Linked DNA regions of Homo sapiens: regions 1, 3, 4, 5, 6 and 7 are each linked to region 2. Evidence: promoter capture Hi-C in 16 types of primary human blood cells and fetal thymus (Javierre and others, 2016). All regions are on one chromosome and are shown on one strand. Each heading gives the region's core, a stretch centred on a gene start or on the middle of the fragment in contact. The rest is flanking DNA. Distances are from core to core; before and after follow the strand shown.

Region 1 (2,700 bases), core at 126-2,625, 270 kb after region 2:
CCAAGTGGGAAAAAAAAATGAACTATTAATCCAACAAATATGTACCTCCTACCTAACATACGTAAGTACGTATAAGATACAACTTAGTGCTGTCAAGATACAAGGATGAAAAGATGAATCCAAAAAGGGATTAAAGAGTTAATGTAAAGTACTAACACAGTGCCTCACACATACATAAATGCCCAATATTATTATCTTACCCTCAAGGAGCTTACTATCTAGCAGACAAGCTAAGATCAGTATATAAGTAACTATAAAGGAAAGAGAACCAGAAGGGACCATAAAAGTTCAGAGGGAGGAGAAATTTCTAACTAGGGTAATCAGACAATGCCACAGTATTGAGATTCAGTGATGTAGAGAATGCTGGCAGTATTAACACAGGAAACTTGAGAAGTGAAATAGGTTTAAGTGGAATATTTTACACTTACACCTAAGTATAAAACAAGTCTTTAAAAAGCAAAGCAGCGTTGTAAAAGGACAGAAAAAAGATGCTTACCCGATGAGGTTGCTGGAACAAAGGAAGTTTTTTGTTTGTTTGTTTGTTTGTTTGTTTTTGAGACAGAGTCTTGCTCTGTCGCCCAGGCTGGAGTGCAGTGGTGCAATCTTGGCTCACTGCAACCTCCGCCTCCTAGGTTCAAGTAACTCTCATACCTCAGCCTCCCAAGTAGCTGGGACTACAGGTGTGCACCACCATGCCCTGCTAATTTTTGTATTTTTAGTAGAGATGGGTTTTCACCATGTTGGCCAGGCTGGTCTCAAACTCCTGACCTCAAGTGATCCACCCACCTCAGCCTCCCAAAGTGCTGGGATTACAGGCGTGAGCCACTGCACCCGCCCAGATTTTTTTTTTTAATGAAACATTTGTAAGGTGTATAGCCCAGTGCAACACACATACACATACACACACACTCAAACAATATATAGTTATAGTGATTTAGAAAACTATGCAGCTACATTAAGAATAAGGGAGACCTAATTATGGTTGAGAAACAAAGGAAAAGGTCTAGCATGAGAAGATAAAAGACGCTGTAACAATTATGTACTAAAGAAGGTCAGGAAATTTAAAAAAAAAAAGGTAGGATCAACAACAGGGGCAAATGGTGCTAAGTTTAAGAATACATGTAACTCTTTATCTTATCAAAAGTAAACAAAATTCAATCCTGAGAAATTCTGAGATGAACAGAAGAGACAGTAAGCTCACTCTGGATGGCCCCCACATTTTCAGTATGAGAACCATGAGGCAAGATTATCTGGATAAAGTAAAGGAAGCAAAGGTAGAATTCAAAGCTTGAGAAGAATGACAGTGACTCAGGTGATTGCCTGAGATGATCCTCTCAGAGATGAAATCAAAGGCAGAAAAAGACAACAACATAAGGAAAATAATTATGCATAATCCTATGTTTCAAAGTGACAAATTTCTCCCACTGATAACAACTTTAAACAAAATAGTATACTGCTTTTTTAAAAGCTTTAAAAATTATCCCACTGAAGTATATTAAATAAACTACAGGCAAATCTTTTTTTAAAGATAGAAGGTTTTATCAATATAAGGAGAGACCAGTGCTTAAAGATGATAATCAAATGTAATTTGATTTTAAAAAACCTATTATATTGTTACAATTTATTTTATCTTTTGGGCTTTTTTGTCTCTTTTCAAGCTACACATTAAGATTAAGTTTATAAAATTCACATTTTAAAATGTTTTAAAGGTGTCACTCCTGTTCAAGTCATGAACATCCTTTGTTTTGCTCTGTCTGCTAAGAAAATGAATAATACAACTATTTTCAACAAAAGTTTTATCCCACCTGGTGCTATTAACTGGTGAATACTTGATGTCCGGGTGACAGCTGTGCTTCGTGATTCCAGGCTTGGGCTCTCTCCTTTCTTATTACTTTCTGGAGAAGGATCTCGTTGGCTGATTTTAGAACTGGTCACTGTTGTTTTGTTATGACAAATTGTCAATGACTGAGTTTGACTAGTGCTTTTTGGTGGACCATTCTGTGAGCTAGATAATACACCCAACTTCTGGCTGCGTAATGTTAAATTCTGAACCTAAGAACCACATAACAGAAAATTAGGATGAAAACAGATGGTTTTAATTGATGTGGTCATCATTACCATTATGACAATACTGACAACACATTTATATTATGCTTTTCATACGTAAAGCTCCAAGCACTTGAAAGAACTGATTAATCCTTAAGGAAAGGAGAGTTATTATTCTAAGTAATCACATCTTAAATATTAAGTGGCAATTTTTTAAAAGACATAAGAGAAAAGAAAAGAGGGAGGGAGAGAAAAAAAAGAAAGGAAGAGAGGGAAGAAGAAAGGGGGAGGGAAGGGGAGGAGAAGGGAAGGATCATAAAGAACTAAATAAAAGCAGTATGTATATATATATACAGACAGTGTGTGTATTATATATGTATGAACTGTGAATATGAGGAAATTACTCTGCAACATACTGCATTTAAAAGTTACCAGTTCTAGCTATAGAGATTAAGGGGACATTAACCTTGTAAGAAAATTAATTCATCAAATCATCTGCCCCATTGTGAAAATTATGAAAAGCATTTTCAAGCAACTCTTTTAATTTAGTAAAATTTTGGTGGTGGTGTTATTGAACATTCACTGCCTTTGAAAACTACATCTCATGAACTGAAAAGACTCTGCATGACCCTGAAATGGCTTTCTATGGTGGCT
Region 2 (2,700 bases), core at 184-2,683:
TTTGGTCCTTTTCATGGCTGTATTTCTAACACTTAGAGCAGGGGTTACTACATAGCAAGCACTCAATAAAGATTTATTGACTGCTGACTGACAGAACATAAATGCATGCATATGAAAAGAAAAGACTGAAAAGAATCTTAAAGAAATGATCGTTTGTGTTATAATGAAAGGAAATTCAGTATTTTCCCTACATTTTTCTGTAGTGTTATATTGCTTTTAACAATTTAAAAGTAAAATTATGAATCATTTAAAGCATGTAAGTAACATAATAAATGATTAGCACAGAGACTCATAGTTGAGTCTTTAGTCTCAAAAGTCTTAAAGTCTTTAGTTTAACCCATAAGATCACTTTAGAAGAAAACTCTAAAAAATAAAGAAACATAGAGGCTGGGAAGGGTGTGTGTGTTGTTGGTGGGGGAGGTGTGGATGGTTAATGGGTACAGAAAAAATAGAATATATAAGATCTACTGTTTGATAGCACAACAGGGTGACTATATTTATCCTTTGTTTACAAACAACCCGTTGTGCTCTTTTAGTTATTTTTAAATGTGCAATAATTTATTGCACATTTAAAAATAACTAAAAGAGGCCTGGTGTGATGGCTTACACCTGTAATCCCAGCAGTTTGGGAGGCCAAGGCAGGAAAATCACCTGAGGTCAGGAATTCGAGACCACCCTGGCCAATGCAGTGAAACCCCATCTCTACTAAAAACACAAAAATTAGCTGGGCATGGTGGTGCGCATCTGTAATCCCAGCTACTCGGGAGGCTGAGGCAGGAGAATCGCTTGAACCCGGGAGGCAGAGGTTACTATGAGCTGAGATCACGCCATTGCACTCCAGCCTGGGTGACAAGAGTGAAACTCTGTCTCAAAATAAATAAATAAATAAATAAAACTAAAGGTATAATGGGATTGTTTGTAACACAAAGGATAAATGCTTGAGGGGATGGATACCCCATTCTCCACAATATGATTATTAGGCATTGCATGCCTGTATTGAAACATCTCATATACCCCATAAATATATACACCTACTATGTACCCACAAAAATTAAAAATAAAAATATTTTAAATGTGGAAGTAAAAACAAAACAAATACAACAGCAAAAACACCAGCAGCCAGCAGCTTACCAGTCTCTGAGGTGGCTGTCTTCTGTATCCAGTCGCTGGGTTGGGAATCACTTGTTTTAAGGTCATTGTCCTCTTTTCTGCTTTCAGCATTGGAGCCCCTGAGAAATTTGTTGACAGTTGAAGTCTGGGGCTTAGTTTCTCCTTCTGAGGAAGTTTTCTTCCTTGTTTGACTCATGGTGAAGTTGATGGGGGTAGTTCCCAATAAGACATCTTCCTGTTGCTTTCTGTTTTCTAGGATTTCTAAGAAGAAAAGAAGATTCTGTCAAGCCTGTGTTCAATCAAAATATCCTCCCCTACATGACTGCCCCCCACTCCCTGCCGCACCACCTTTCTTTTTCTGTTTTTTTATTGCTGTTAATGTTTAACATGAAAATAAGAATGATGTAACCCAGGATCCAGAAGCCAATACAAACTCAAAGCAATTTGAGTTTTTAACTTTGCCCTATTTCATTGTGTGAGATACAAGTCATTAAGCATGACTTTGGCAAGCACATCAAGTGTGTCAACACATCTTAAATTACAGCTGTCAATTAGTTACCTGAAGACTTAATATGCCTTTAAAAGGGACTGGCCATTTGCAAAGCTGTCCCCAGAGGAGTTTGCCTTCAGCGACCTCTGCCTTCTGGTGACCCCCACCTCCTTCCTTTGCACATAAGCTCCTTTTTCTCTTTGCATATTCATATTTTCTCTACCCCCAACCCTGCACCACCACCCCACTGAAACATGTTGGCAGTAAAGAATTCATTCATTCCATAAATAGTTTTAAAGAATCTACTGTGGGCCAGTTAATGTTCTAAATGCAAAAGATTCAATGACGAACAAGAGACAGTTCTTGTCTTTGATGGGATCTTAACCTGGTGGGAAGATGGACCTGTATGCCATTGATTGAGTGGGACAAGAGCCAAGAGATGGGAGGTGGTCAGGGAACCCACAGTAAACTAAGCATGCCTTGGAGAACAGACTTGGAACAGTGAGTGACATTGCCTGGGTTTTGAAGGACTGCGAGTTAGCTTTTTAAGAGAGGGAAGAGTATCCCAGGCAGAAGAAAGGGTAAGCTCAAGAGCTCCCAGGCAGGAACGGCTGGAAGAGCCTAGCATTGGAGGTGGGGATGTGGGTCAGGGGGTGTGGAGGTTAGGGGTGAGGTCTGGTATGAATTGAAGCTAAAAAGGATTCGTAAAGGTCAATCTATTATCTCTCCTGAAATTTGCTTATATTTTATGGGAGGGCTAAGGACTTAAACTAAAGGGATACACAGAAGTGTTTTGTTTTGTTTTGACATAGAGATGGATTTTCACCATGTTGGCCAGGCTCGTCTTGAATTTCTGGCCTCAAGTGATCCGCCCACCTCGACCTCCCAAAGTGCTGGGCTTAAAGGTGTGAACCATCATGCCCAGCAGAAGTATTCTTGAAATTACAGTTTTCATAGTCTCCTCTCTAATAAAATAGCTCTTTCTGTAACATTATGTTCCAGAATGGTCCAAGAAACATTTTACACAGGGAATCCTAAAAATGGACCTTGCAGAGCCCACCTCCACTCGTGAGGGCTGGAATGTTCCATGCACTTGGAGC
Region 3 (2,700 bases), core at 44-2,543, 300 kb after region 2:
GAATGGATACTTGCAAATTGAACCCAAATAACTCATGTAAGCTGAAAGTATAATTTCTAAAATGTGAATTGCACAAAGTTAGAAATGCTTAGATGTCTACCAAGGACATGACATACTATTGTATATCACAGTAAATTCATGGCCAATATCCCTGCATTGTATATTTTAGGCTTTCAATACACACAGAAAGCTGAAACCACATAAGATCTGAACATGATCAGTGCAAATGGATATACAAGAAATAATACAAAAAGATTTTTTTAAGACTCAGATTTTCATAAGTTTAACATTAGTTCTGAATTCTTGAATTTTATCATTTCTATTTCTGGGCAATTGTTACTTTAAACAGCATGCAACAAATTATAATAACAGCTTCATAAATAACAACAGTTTACTTTTGGAAAACAATTCTTTAAAATTTTAAATCCAGGAAAAAAAAATTTAGGGAACTTACAGACGTTTGGGACATACTTGACTGCTGTGTGACACTTCCTGTGGGAGATGTAGATGGTCTTCCACTGGACAAACTTGCCTAAAATAGTAAGACTTTTAGAATATGTCGGTAAAAACCTGAAGTTAAGAACTTTCTGGTACCATGATAACACAAAACCACAACAATAAATGTCAAAAGGCCTATGTATGAAACAACTAATTTTATAGTCAACATGGCTTAAGCTTCGGTTAAACAGATTTTTTAAATAAGGAAAAGCTGAATGGTGAAAACAGGGGATCCAAAGACTAATCTTATTTTATTAGCTACTTTATTGTCAGTTTCACTTTATGGGTCTCTGTCATCTTTAAAGTGGAATCACTACTCCAGAGTTATGAAAAAGAAATTAGAGCTACAGCAAGAGCCAGTGAGTGGGTTTCAGTTTCCTAACTTGTATCACAAACATGTTATTTAAAAATTACACTACTAAGAAGCAACAGCTGAGAATCTGTTGGTAACAGAAATAAACCTTTTTCAGGTTCAGTCAATTGAGATCCTCCTCTGGTGAGGGGATTTAAGATTAAATCTTACACAGCTTTATTTAAATAGTACAATAGTAACAAAAATCTTTTTTAAAAACAAGCATTTAATAATGAAATCCTGTTATCAGTAGGAATAATATGATTGGATTTTAGAAAAATGGATATACCTATCTTTGTATAAAAAATTTCTGGAGAAATATGTATTAGATTGTTACTGTGGCCACCTTTGAAGAACGGGAAACAGTGATAGACAGGGAAAAGGAACAGCTTTACTTTATCTCTTATAAACAACTTAATATTGTTTGATTTTTTAATGAGTATAATTACTTATATAATTTTTTTAATCTTATTTTTAGTAAAAATACAATTTATGTAAGCCTAAGTACTCACTGTTGTACCTAGAACTTTATACACATAAACTAGCATAGCATTTCTTCAATCTGGATAAAAAGCACTGAGACAAAAGCTAGAAACAGAGTAACATAAAAAAACATATCCCCTTTTTCTCAATTAACTTCTATTCGGCAACCTATTAATATATTTCCTCCGGGAAAAATAACCACAGGACATCTGAGAACTCTGAAATAATACCCAATCTATTTATTTTCAGTAACTACCTACAGATAACAGAAACTTTGATCTCATAAACTCTTATTTTAGTCTTACCTGAACAGCAGCAAGGCTCTGAAGCTGGGAGCTGCTTAAATGCTGCTGCTGAAGAGCTGCAGTATGCAGCATCAAGTGCTGTTGTTGGGCTGCATACATTTGCTGAAGGTACTGAGCAGCTGAGCTGGGGGGCCGATGCAATGCCTGTTGAATTACCTGTGATAAGTCAATTGAACCAATGTCAAACCATAATCTCAACCTTTATCTTAATCAGAAAATCAAAGTATAAAAAAGTGGCAGTTTAAAATTTCACTGCTTTAATACATAATATCATCAAGCTTATTAACATTATTTCTTTCCTAGTTACATATCACTAGAAATCACTAACTTGTACACATTAAAACTACCCAGTGGGCCGGGCACGGTGGCTCACGCCTGTTAATTCCAGCACTTTGGGAGGCCGAGGTGGGCGGATCACAAGGTCAGGAGATCAAGACCATCCTGGCTAACATGGTGAAACCCCGTCTCTACTAAAAACACAAAAAATTAGCCAGGCATGGTGGCACATGCCTGTAGCCCCAGCTACTCGGGAGGCTGAGGCAGGAGAATCGCTTGAACCTGTGAGGTGAAGGCTGCAGTTGAGCCAAGATCATGCCACTGCACTCCAGCCTGGGCGACACAGCAAGACTCCCATCTCAAAAAAAAAAAAACAAAACAAAACCCAGTGGACAATTCGCAAAAGACAGGCCAGGCCAACTAAGCATTTCAAAAGATTTTCAATCTCACCAGTAGTCAAAAACTTACAAATTAAAACAAGATACTGTTTTCCAACTTTCAGATGGATAAAGATTTAAAAGAATACTACTACTACCTGGGGAAACCAATACTCCCATATTGCTAGTAAAAATTCAAGTTGGCATAACCTTTTTGGATAAAACTTCGTAGAATTCAGGGCTTGGGTGTGGAGAGAAATACCTTTACCATGCAACCATAACAAATAGTAATGTAGATCAGTGCTGTCCTATACAGTAACAACTAGTCACATGTGCCTACTGAGCACTTAAAATGTGGTTAGTGCAACTAAAGAATTGAGTTAATTTTAAATTGAATTTTAATTAATTT
Region 4 (2,700 bases), core at 137-2,636, 410 kb after region 2:
CTTACACTTCTCTTCTTTCTTAACCTTCTCAAACCTGGTTTCTTTTCACTCTGCTGTATTTACCCTTGTGTGTTAGTCTGTTTTGTGTTGTTACAAAGGAATACCTGAAGGTTGGGTGTGGCAGCTCACACCTATAATCCTAGGACTTTAGACCGGGAGGATCATTTGAGGCCAGTAGTTCAGGACCAGCCTTGGCAACATAGCAAGACCCTCCATGTCTACAAAAAATAAATAAAAATTAGCCGGGTTTGGAGGCACATGCCTGTAGCCCCAGCTACTTGGGAGACTGAGGCAGGAGGATCACTTGAGCCCAGGAGTTCATGGCTGCAGTGAGCTATGTTCGTGCCACTGCACTGCAGCCTGGGTGACAGAACAAGACCTTTTCTTAAATAAATAAATAAATGAAGGAAGGAATAAAGGAATACCTAAGGCTGGGTAATTTATACAAGATTTATTTGGTGCACGGTTCTGCAGGCTGATCAGTAAGTATTGCACTAGCATCTGCTTCTCAGGAAGCTTTCAGTCTTGGCAGAAGGCAAAGGGGAAGCAGGTGTGCCACATGGCAAGAGAGGGAGCAAGGGAGTCAGGGGAGGTGCCACACTCTGAACTCACTCATTACACAGGAACACACCAAGCCATTCATGAGGAATCTGTCCCTGTGACCCAAACACCTCCCACTAGGGATCACATTTCAGCATGAGATTTGAGATTTGGAGGGGTCAGATATACAAACTATCACCTTGTTACCAAATCAAATTATTATTATTATTACTATTATTGACAGGGTCTCACTTTGTGATGCAGGCTGGAGCGCACTGGCACAATCACAGCTCACTGCAACCTTGACCTGCCTGGCTCAGGTGATCCTCCCACCTCAGCCTCCCAGGTAGCTGGGACTACAGTGCACACCACCAACATCCGGCTAATTTTTGTATATTTTGGTAGAGATGAGGTTTCTTGGCACATTGCCCAGGCTGGTCTTGAACTCCTGGGCTCAATCAGTCCACCTGCTTCAGCCTCCCTAAGTGCTGAAAATACAGGCATGAGCCACTGTGCGCAGCCTAAATTATTATTTCTAAGTTTTTAAGTTGTCATTCTCACTCAGTTTTTCTAATACCCTTCTTTCAGTTTTGTGCTTGCGGGTTTCTTTATCTTTCTCAAAATTTACTATTTGCTTTTCTTGGTATTCTTCACTTCAGAGATTTCATACTTTATTCTCATGGGTCCATTGTGTGCTGATGATTTTGCAGGCATCTAATAAAAGACTGTCTTCAGGCTTCTCTGTAAATTGCTAGAAGCTTACATTTGTAGTTGTGAATGAATTTTAAGGCTTACTTTGTCGTCCCAAAGGGGTCTTGGTATTCTGTGGAAAAGAATGTCTTCCATTCGCTGAACTACTTCATGCTTGTTTTCTGTCTATAGCATCCAAAAACGCCTCTGAATGTGTGCTCTCACTAGCTTACATTCTATGTATCAAGCTTCCAGCAGACTCTTTCATCTTGATGTCTCATTATAACTTCTGAATTTATCATGAAAAACCCAATCGTTCTCTCCAGTAACTTTGTCAATCTTATCCTAGCCACACACTTGACGTTCCCTGTCAGTGGTACCCCCAATCTCTTGGTCACCAAGGTTAATGTGTTTTTTTAATTCCTGCATCTCTATTGCCTCTGTACCCAAAAGTTATCGTATCCTTTTTAAGACATCCTTCGATGTTTTTGTGATTTCAACTCCCTCCCCATTCTTATTACCATCCCTCTTATCTCAAAATTCATCCATATAATCTGGATAGTTAGATTATTTGGTTTGGAATGACATTTGAAAAATATTAAGAACTTAAAATATTTTTATGTTAGGAAAATATCTTTAAATCGTTATAGGTACAACTAGGTGTTAGAAATATAATGTACTACGCAAAGCATTTCCCATTATAACTCTGATACAAATGTTCTCAACAGGCAATGAACACCAGGGAAAGTGGCAAAGCTTCATCCAGTCTAGGTCTTCAGGATTTTGATTTGCTCCGGGTAATAGGAAGAGGAAGTTATGCCAAAGTACTGTTGGTTCGATTAAAAAAAACAGATCGTATTTATGCAATGAAAGTTGTGAAAAAAGAGCTTGTTAATGATGATGAGGTAAGCACTGCATATTTTATTGCTTCTAAACTGCTTGAGAATACTATTCTTTTTTTTTTTTGAAACGGAGTTTCGCTCTTGTCACCCAGCCTGGAGTGCTAGTGGTGCAATCTTGGCTCACTGCAACCTCTGCCTCCCAGGTTCAAGTGATTCTCCTGCCTCAGCCTCCCAAGTAGCTGGGATTACAGGCATGCACCACTATGCCCAGCTAATTTTTGTATTTTTAGTAGAGATGGGGTTTCACCATGTTGGCCAGGCTGCTCTTGAACTCCTGACCTCAAGTGATCCACCCGCCTCAGCCTCCCAAAGTTGCTAGGAATATAGGCGTGAGCCACCGCACCCAGCCAAGAGTACTATTTTAAAGAAAACCTCTATGTTTGTGCTTTATTATCTCATTCTGCTTTTCTAAATATGTGCTAAGTAAATGAAATATATTATTTCGGTTTACTTTTCTTATAGATGGTATAAGATATTTAAAGTAATTTGATTATTAGATTTTTTTAAAAAAACAAAAATCAAACCACATTATTATCAGGAGAAATACTTGAGCTTTGTAAAAGTTTTC
Region 5 (2,700 bases), core at 178-2,677, 320 kb after region 2:
AAGGGATTGGGATCCTATCTTCAGCCTCCTTAAACTGAGTAACAGTCAGCCAAGAATTATTATTATTATTATTATTATTTTAGACAGAGTCTCGCTCTGTCGCCCAGGCTGGAGTACAGTGGCACGATCTCGGCTCACTGCAACCTCTGCCTCCTGGGTTCATGTGATTATCTTGCCTCAGCCTCAAAAGTAGCTGGGATTACAGGCATGCACCACCATGCCCTGCTAATTTTGTATTTTTAGTAGAGGCGGGATTTCACTATGTTGACCAGACTGGTCTCGAACTCCTGACCTCATGATCCACCCACCTCAGCCTCCCAAAGTGTTGGGATTACAGGCGTGAGCCACCACGCCCAGCAAGAATTTTTTTTTGAGAGGGAGTCTTGCTTTGTCACCCAGGCTGGAGTGCAGTGGCACCATCTCGGCTCACTGCAAGCTCCACCTCCTGGGTTCACGCCATTCTCCTGCCTCAGCCTCCCCAGTAACTGGGACTACAGGCACCCGCCACCACACCCAGCTAATATTTGTATTTTTAGTAGAGACGGGGTTTCACCGTATTAGCCAGGATGTTCTCGATCTCCTGACCTTGTGATCCACCCACCTCGGCCTCCCAAAGTGCTGGGATTACAGGCATGGGCCACCAAGCCCGGCCCATTAAGAATTTTTTTTTAAGGCAGGGTCTCACTCTCTTGCCCAGGCTGGAGTGGAATGGCACGATCATGGCTCACTGCAACCTCAACCTCCCTGGGCTCAGGTGACCCTCCCACTTCAGTGCATCCCACCACACATGGCTAATTTTTGTATTTTTTGTACAGATGGGGCTTCACCATGCTGCCCAGGCTGCTCTTGAACTCCTGAGCTCAAGTCATCTCCCATCTTGGCCTCCCAAAGTGCTAGGATTACAGGCATGAGCCACCACGCCCAACCTAGCCAACGATTTTGTATGTAGCAAAACTAAGTTTCATAAATAAAGGAGAAATAAAATCATTTTCAGACAAACAAATGCTTAGGGAACTTGTCACTACCAGACCAGCCCAACAAGAAATGCTAAAAGCTGTTCTAAATCCTGAAACAAAAGGCTGATATGCACTAGAGTAGAACCTCTTGATGGCATAAAACTCATGGGGCATATAAAACAATAACACAGTGAATAAAACAAAGTATCTAGGTAACAAATAACATGATGACTGGAACAGTACCTCACATCTCTCTTTTTTTTTTTGAGATGGAGTCTCACTCTGGCGCCAGGCTAGAGTACATTGGCACAATCTCGGCTTACCGCAACCTCTGACTCCCTGGTTCAAGCAATTTTCTGCCTCAGCCTCCCGAGTAGCTTGGATTACAGGTGCCTGCCACCATGCTCAGCTAATTTTTGTATTTTTAGTGGAGACGGGGTTTCCCCATGTTGGCCAGGATGGTCTCCATCTCTTGACCTCGTGATCTGCCCGCCTCAGCCTCCCAAAGTGCTGGGATTGCAGGCATGGCCTTTTTGGGTTTTTTTGTTTTTTGCAGGGAGGGGACAGGGTCTTGCTCTGTCACCTGGGCTGGAGTGCAGTGGTACAATCTTGGCTCACTGTAACCTCCACCTCCTGGGCTCAAGTGGGCTTCCCACCTCAGCCTCCTGAGTAGCTGGGACTATAGGTGTGCACCATCACACCCAGTTAAGTTTGTGTGTGTGTGTGTGTGTGTGTGTGTGTGTGTGTGTATTTTTTGTAGAGATGGGGTTTCGCCATGTTGCCCAGGCTGCTCTGGAATTCCTGGGCTCAAGTAATTCTTCCACCTCAGCTTCCCAAAGTGCTAGCATTATAGGTGTGAGCCACCACCATACCCAGCCTCAAATCTCAATATTAATGTTGAATGTAAACAGCCTAAATGCTTCACTTAAAAGATACAGATTGGCAGAATGGGTCTAAAAATTGCAAACCAAATATCTGTTGTCTTCAAGGGACTTATATAACACATAAAGATTCAGATAAACTCAAGGTAAAGGAGTGGATAAAGATATTCCATGCAAATGGAAACCCAAAGCAAGCAGGAGTAGCTATTCTTCTATCAGATAAGATAGACTTTAAAGCAACAACAGCCAGGTGTGGCAGTTCACACCTGCAATCTCAGCCCTTTGGGAGGCTGAGGCAGGAGGATCCCTTGAACCCAGGAGTTCAAGACCAGCCTAGGCAACACAGCAAGACCCTGTCTCTATGAAAAAATTTAAAAATTAGCCTGGTGTGGTGGTGTGTGCCTGCAATCCCAGCTAATGAGGAGGCTGAAGTGGGACAATCACTTGTGTGTCGTAGGTTCAGGCTGCAGTGAGCTGTGATCATCCCACTCTACTCCTGCCTGAGCAATAAAGCCAGACCCTGTCTCAATAAATAAATAAGTAAATAGCAACAACAGTAAAAAAAAAAAAAAAAAGGACAAAGAAGATAATTATATAATGATAAAAGGATCAATCCAACAAGAAGATATTACAATCCTAAATTCATATGTACCAATACTGGAGCTCTAAGATTCATAAAACATTTACTACTGGACCTAAGAAATGAGATAGACAGCAACACAATGATAGTGGGGCACTTCAACACTCCACTCGCAGCATTAGACAGATCATCAAGACAGAAAGTCGGCAAAGAAAAAAATGGATTTAAAACTACACTCTAGAACAAATGGACCTAACGGATATTTACAGAACATTCTACCAGA
Region 6 (2,700 bases), core at 115-2,614, 450 kb after region 2:
AGGACTCGACTTATTTGAAATAAGAGGAGAAAAAACAAATGGATGGTTTAAAAGGAAATGTTTGACTGAAGCCTGCTTTCTGTACCCATAGCTACCTGCCCACAAGAATGTGGCTCCCTGGTGACAGCTGCACTAATTATAGAAAAACAAGTTGAGTGGAAGAAGATGAATTATGTAAATTTACATTGACTGAGGATCCTGCTGGAGCATTTAGGAATGTTGATTATTAAGAATAAAGTGAGGATTTTCTTACATTGAAAATCAATGAAAAGAGGAAGGGATAATTTGCTACAGTCTTAGAATAAACTCTGGATCAGCCAAAATATCATTTATTAATGTTACTGTAAATTTGTTGCAGGTGACAGCCATTTTGTGGATTTGAGAGAAACTATCAAGTGGGTTTTAGGCTGCAAATTTACCTTATTTTTTGTTTATATACGAAATGAAAGGTACCAAAAAAGTCACATTTTTTGTAACCCTTGCTGTTATGTAAAATAGAAGTCTCCAACTATCTCTGCTTGGCTTTATGCAGATTTCTTATTTTTAAATATCAACCTAGATTAAAAGCTGATGATTAGAAAATAAAGAATGGAAAGCCAACCTTCCACAAGAAAACATTTTTTTGTGTGTTTCCAAAAATGGTCCATATGAAATCAAACACCTTAATAAACATGCCTAACATGAATCTTTACACCCGTAGAAATGTGACAAACTCAGTTTTAGTGAATATGTTGCAAAAACAAATAAAACTGGTATTTAACATTTTTCTTAGTGAAATATTACTGAACACTTAATTAACGTGCTGTAATTTTAAATGAATCCATTTTCCTACGCAGACACAGTAGAAAAGCAGCTAAATTGTTTCAGTCACCCACTCACTGAACAGACGAAACAAAACATAAACCCAACCATGTATTATTTGTTACATATCAGGAAGGTTAAGGTTCTGCCACAGAAACCGCACAATTCCAGTTCGTAGGGAATGTTCTTTTCTCACTCTGCATCAGATCATCACACTTCCAGTAAGTAGAGAAAGCACTGTTACATCGGGGTCAGAAAACTGTGCTAATGCAAAATGTCCTGTGTTTACTGCCATTTTTAATTCCCAAATACGTATATTTTAGTGACCTACAGTCTAAAACAGAACAGCCAAGCCTTTTTCCAAATGCAGATCTCTCTCACAATTTGCGTTACACAGAAAACCCCTGGGCAGACAAAGGACAGCTTGAGGATACCCCAATGTTCACATTTAGCACTGACACAGCACTTTCATCTGTAACGTGCCTTACAAACATTAACTAATTAAAAGAAACAACACCCTGCAAGGTATTTAGCAGGATGTAAAAATGAAAATCTACAAGCAAGACAGCCAGAATGCATAAATCATGAAGTGTTAAATCAACATGACCTGAAAACCAGCAGGACTCCCTCCCTCTTTTCTTGCCATGACTGTCTTTTGGGAAGGGCCAGAACTTGATTTTATGCCACGCGAAGACGGGGAGGGGGTGATGTCTGGGTGGAGGTGGGTGGGAGGACTGTAATAAAATTCTAAGTATCACATTTGCAAAGGGGAAGTGTTCTACTAACTCAGAGAAGGGGCTTCAAGAATATAACCCTTTTAGAAGTGCCCCAGAGAATACAAAATCAATACAGTGTTTAATTAATCTACTACAGATTGACTTCACATAAAGCAGCCCCAACCAGGAGAGTTCCATGCTGGGAAATCAGACAGATCACGGTTGGAGAGTATGAGTGGCCTGTATAATATGCATTTTTTGTCCTTTCGGGAGATGGAGGAGGGCACCGTGACTGCCCTGTGGTCTGACTGCACAGACTTTGCTCGCTTGCTCTATGAAAGCGTCCTCAGTAGGTAACAGCATTACAAAACAGTAAGTGAAATGAGCTCAGTAGCTTTTAGAAGAGGCAATGAGTGTTGTTCAGAAGAATTTGTGGTTCGGGGCTCTGGAGGAAGAGAAGGATTCTTTGGCCTGATGGAAAGATGACTGAAAAAAAGGAAAAAAAAAAAAAAAGACTGGGATTCTAACTAGTTCTATGACTCCATTTCTTCATGTTTGATATAGTTTAATAAGCTCTACCTCAAAGTAGGTGCTAGAAAATTAAATGAAATGGACGTAAAAGTGCTTAACTGAAAAGTAGATGTTTAATGAGTTGTAATTCACTTCTTACCGCCTTGGGTGTACTGCGGAGATGAGGCAGGTTCAGTTATGTCTCAACCCCAAGAAGTCTGTCATCAGAAGCAGTTCTAGAGGCAGCACTTGTCTCATATATCCGCTAATATCCAGGACCTAATACCTGGGAGCTGTGTTGTCCACCATGGTGGCCATGAGCCACATGTACTACTATTGAGCACTTGCAATGTAGCCAGTCCAAATTGAGATGTGGTGCCACTGTAAACTACATGCTATATTTTGAAGACTTAGTTGAAAAAATGAAAAATATTTCATTTATAATTTTGATGTTGGTTACTTGTTGAAATGAGAATATTTTGGACATACTGGATTAAATATAATATTAAAATTAATTTCACTTTTTTAAAAAATTGTGGCTATGGAAGACTTAAAGTTACACATGAAGCTCACATTTGTGGCTCACATTATGTTTCTATTGGACAGCATTACCCTAGAACATAAGTCTCAAATATATTGGATCACATACTTCATCAGTTTAAAAAAAGTTTTA
Region 7 (2,700 bases), core at 89-2,588, 280 kb after region 2:
TAATCCCAGCACTTTGGGAGGCTGAGGTGGGCGGATCGCAAGGTCAGGAGTTTGAGACCAGCCTGACCAACATGGTGAAATCCCATTTCTACTAAAAATACAAAAATTAGCCAGGTGTGATGGCACGCGCCTGTAATCCCAGCTACTCAGAAGGCTGAGGCAGGAGAATCGCTTGAACCCGGGAGGCGGAGGTTGCAGTGACCCAAGATCACGCCACTACACTCCAGCCTGGGCAACAGAGCGAGACTCTGTCTCAAATACTAGTAATAATAATAATAATATTTTTAAACAGAGAATAATATAATCCAACCTCAAATCATTTTGTGGAACAAAGCACAGAATACAATTAATAAATATTTTATTAGAAAAAAGAATACTTTATTGGACTTCTTATTCAAGCAACAAGGCAGACTGGACTAATACATCCATGTGACCAAACGGTATCACTGAAATGCTAGATCAACATGAAAAAATCAGAATATACAGCAGAACTCCAAAAGGGAGAGAAAAGCTGGGAAAGGAAATTCCTGGTGCCAGAAAGGAAGAAACTCAAAGCCAGAGAGATGTCACCTCAGCTGACACCAAGGCAGTCTATAAGGGTATCTTGGTTCTATAGAGCCAGAAGATCCATCTTTGTGCTTATTTCAGGGGAGGGCTACAAGTCAAATCCCTATTTTGAGCCAAAATCCTGAAAAGAGCTGCCCAATATGTAAGAAGGAGCTGGAAAAGCTCCACCCATACGTTCTGAGAAACAGCAAAGAAGCTTGCATCTGCCCTGCTCCTAGTGGAGGCAGGGAAGGAGGTACCTATGAGAATCAAAACTCCAGGCTTACACCAGGTAGGGGTATAGAATCCACATCCACACTCCCTGTACGGTTCCATAACCCAGCCCAAGACATTAACATCTGAACTAACCCAGGACACTTGTTAAACTGAATGGTGACTGGAGGAAGCTGAGTGAAGTTTATATAGGAGGACCTCTCTGTACTAGTTTTGCAACTTCCTATGATTTATAGGAATTTAATTTATAATTATTTTAAAATAAAAAAGTTTAAAAAACTGTATAGTAGGCACATGACAGTTGGTTATCTAATTCTCTAAATGTATATATATCACATATTTTTATTTTAATATAATAGTTAAATGTATAAATCAATGCATAAATACCACTAATACAATACAGAATTATTCTGTAATTTTGTTTGTTTTTGTTTTGTTTTGTTTTGTTTTTTTGAGACAGAGTCTCGCTCTGTCGCCCAGGCTGGAGTGCAGTGGTGCGACCTCAGCTCACTGCAACCTCCACCTCCTGGGTTCACATCATTCTCCTGCCTCAGCCTCCTGAATAGCTGGGACTACAGGCGCCCACCACCACGCCTGGCTAATTTTTTTTTTTTTTTTTTTTTTGTATTTTTAGTAGAGACAGGGTTTCATGGTGTTAGGCAGGATGGTCTCAATCTCCTGACCTCACGATCCCTCCCCCTCGGCCTTCCAAAGTGCTGGGATTACAGGCGTGAGCCACCGTGCCCAGCCTATTCTGTAATTTAGATCCTATTCCTAACACATCACTGAAATCACCTTAACAATAGTCACCAACATCTAACTGACAAAATCAGTGGAATCTTTTCAGACCATTCCCTCTCAGTCTTCTTTACCAGCTCTTCTTTTGCACCCACTCCCAAAATGTTCATGCTCTGTCTTTGACACTTTTCTTCTTTTTTTTTTTGAGACAGGGTCTCCCTCTGTCACCCAGGCTGGGGTGCAGTGGAGTGATCATGGCTCACTGCAGCCCCAATTTCCTAGACTCAGATGATCCTTCCACCTCAGCCTCCTGAGTAGCTGGGACTACAGGCATGCATCACCACACCCGGCTAATCTTTGTTATTTTTTGTAGAGACAGGGTTTCATCATGTTGCCCAAGCTTGCCTCAAACTCCTGGGCTCAAGCGATACCCCCACCTCAGCCTCCCAAAGTGCTGGGATTACCAGCATGAGCCATCGCACCAGACCACACTTTTCTTCTTGAATTCCTAGATTATCATATCTACTTCCACGGTTTCAAACAATTCAATCCTGATGACTCTTGATTCTTAACTATAAACCCTTTTTTGAAGTTCCAGATCCAAATACCTACAGAACACATCTTTCTGGGTATCCTTTACCAGCTCAAATTCAGCATGTTCAAACAGCAAACTAATTATTCCTTTTAAAACAGCTTCTCCTCAAATGGCACTGGCATTTTCTAAAATTCTCCAAGACACAGTATCTGGAAGTCATCCTGATGCTTCCCTCTCCTTTACCACACACACAAAATCAGTCACGTATCTTGTTTCTAATACATCTTTTTGTCTCCTAATTTCCATTTTGATTTTTCATCACTTAGTTTGAGACTTTGGGCCCATGTCATTTCTGGCTTGATTACTTTAATATCTGCAAACTGATACCTCTTACTGGAATCTTGTCACCTTCTACTTGCCAGATAATCTTTCCCTGATTATTAATATTAATTACCCATTTAAGAATCTTCTGAGGCCGGGCGCGGTGGCTCACGCCTGTAATCCCAGCACTTTGGGAGGCCGAGGCGGGCGGATCACGAGGTCAGGAGATTGAGACCATCCTGGATAACACGGTGAAACCCCATCTCTACTAAAAATACAAAAAAATAGCCAGGCGTGGTGGCGGGTGCCTGTAGTCCCAGCTACTC

Evidence for each region. The method cuts DNA at HindIII sites, captures the fragments that hold promoters and counts their contacts. A CHiCAGO score of 5 or more calls a contact.
Region 1: a contact is called between a fragment that was not itself captured here and the fragment with the promoter of LRRC31 in region 2, in 4 of 17 cell types (total B cells, naive B cells, naive CD4 T cells and 1 more). The highest score is 8.9, in total B cells.
Region 3: a fragment that was not itself captured here is called in contact with the fragment with the promoter of LRRC31 in region 2 in 12 of 17 cell types (naive B cells, total B cells, naive CD4 T cells and 9 more); the score reaches 15.5 in naive B cells.
Region 4: a fragment that was not itself captured here is called in contact with the fragment with the promoter of LRRC31 in region 2 in 2 of 17 cell types (total CD8 T cells and non-activated CD4 T cells); the score reaches 5.2 in total CD8 T cells.
Region 5: a contact is called between a fragment that was not itself captured here and the fragment with the promoter of LRRC31 in region 2, in 5 of 17 cell types (neutrophils, total B cells, naive B cells and 2 more). The highest score is 7.8, in neutrophils.
Region 6: a contact is called between a fragment that was not itself captured here and the fragment with the promoter of LRRC31 in region 2, in 1 of 17 cell types (neutrophils). The highest score is 5.9, in neutrophils.
Region 7: a fragment that was not itself captured here is called in contact with the fragment with the promoter of LRRC31 in region 2 in 2 of 17 cell types (naive B cells and total B cells); the score reaches 5.1 in naive B cells.

Annotation. Positions count from the first base shown.
Region 1 is chr3:170,134,614-170,137,313 of GRCh38, forward strand. PHC3 (polyhomeotic homolog 3) reads right to left here. Exons shown (of 15, transcript NM_024947.4): 7 at 1,806-2,052. Among named protein-coding and RNA genes, the nearest start is that of PHC3, 46 kb to the right of the region's middle. The HindIII fragment of the contact is 181 bases long and covers 1,286-1,466 here.
Region 2 is chr3:169,868,502-169,871,201 of GRCh38, forward strand. LRRC31 (leucine rich repeat containing 31) reads right to left here and starts at 1,434. Exons shown (of 9, transcript NM_024727.4): 1 at 1,132-1,434. The coding sequence starts at 1,306. The HindIII fragment of the contact is 9,706 bases long and covers 1-2,700 here.
Region 3 is chr3:170,170,919-170,173,618 of GRCh38, forward strand. It overlaps PHC3 (polyhomeotic homolog 3), which reads right to left. Exons shown (of 15, transcript NM_024947.4): 3 at 1,639-1,794; 4 at 455-532. Among named protein-coding and RNA genes, the nearest start is that of PHC3, 9.5 kb to the right of the region's middle. The HindIII fragment of the contact is 1,241 bases long and covers 674-1,914 here.
Region 4 is chr3:170,278,269-170,280,968 of GRCh38, forward strand. It overlaps PRKCI (protein kinase C iota), which reads left to right. Exons shown (of 18, transcript NM_002740.6): 9 at 1,959-2,135. Among named protein-coding and RNA genes, the nearest start is that of PRKCI, 57 kb to the left of the region's middle. The HindIII fragment of the contact is 180 bases long and covers 1,297-1,476 here.
Region 5 is chr3:170,191,404-170,194,103 of GRCh38, forward strand. No RefSeq gene overlaps it. Among named protein-coding and RNA genes, the nearest start is that of PHC3, 11 kb to the left of the region's middle. The HindIII fragment of the contact is 3,214 bases long and covers 1-2,700 here.
Region 6 is chr3:170,321,722-170,324,421 of GRCh38, forward strand. No RefSeq gene overlaps it. Among named protein-coding and RNA genes, the nearest start is that of SKIL, 35 kb to the right of the region's middle. The HindIII fragment of the contact is 3,885 bases long and covers 1-2,700 here.
Region 7 is chr3:170,150,956-170,153,655 of GRCh38, forward strand. All of the region lies in intron 4 of PHC3 (polyhomeotic homolog 3), which reads right to left. Among named protein-coding and RNA genes, the nearest start is that of PHC3, 29 kb to the right of the region's middle. The HindIII fragment of the contact is 1,155 bases long and covers 762-1,916 here.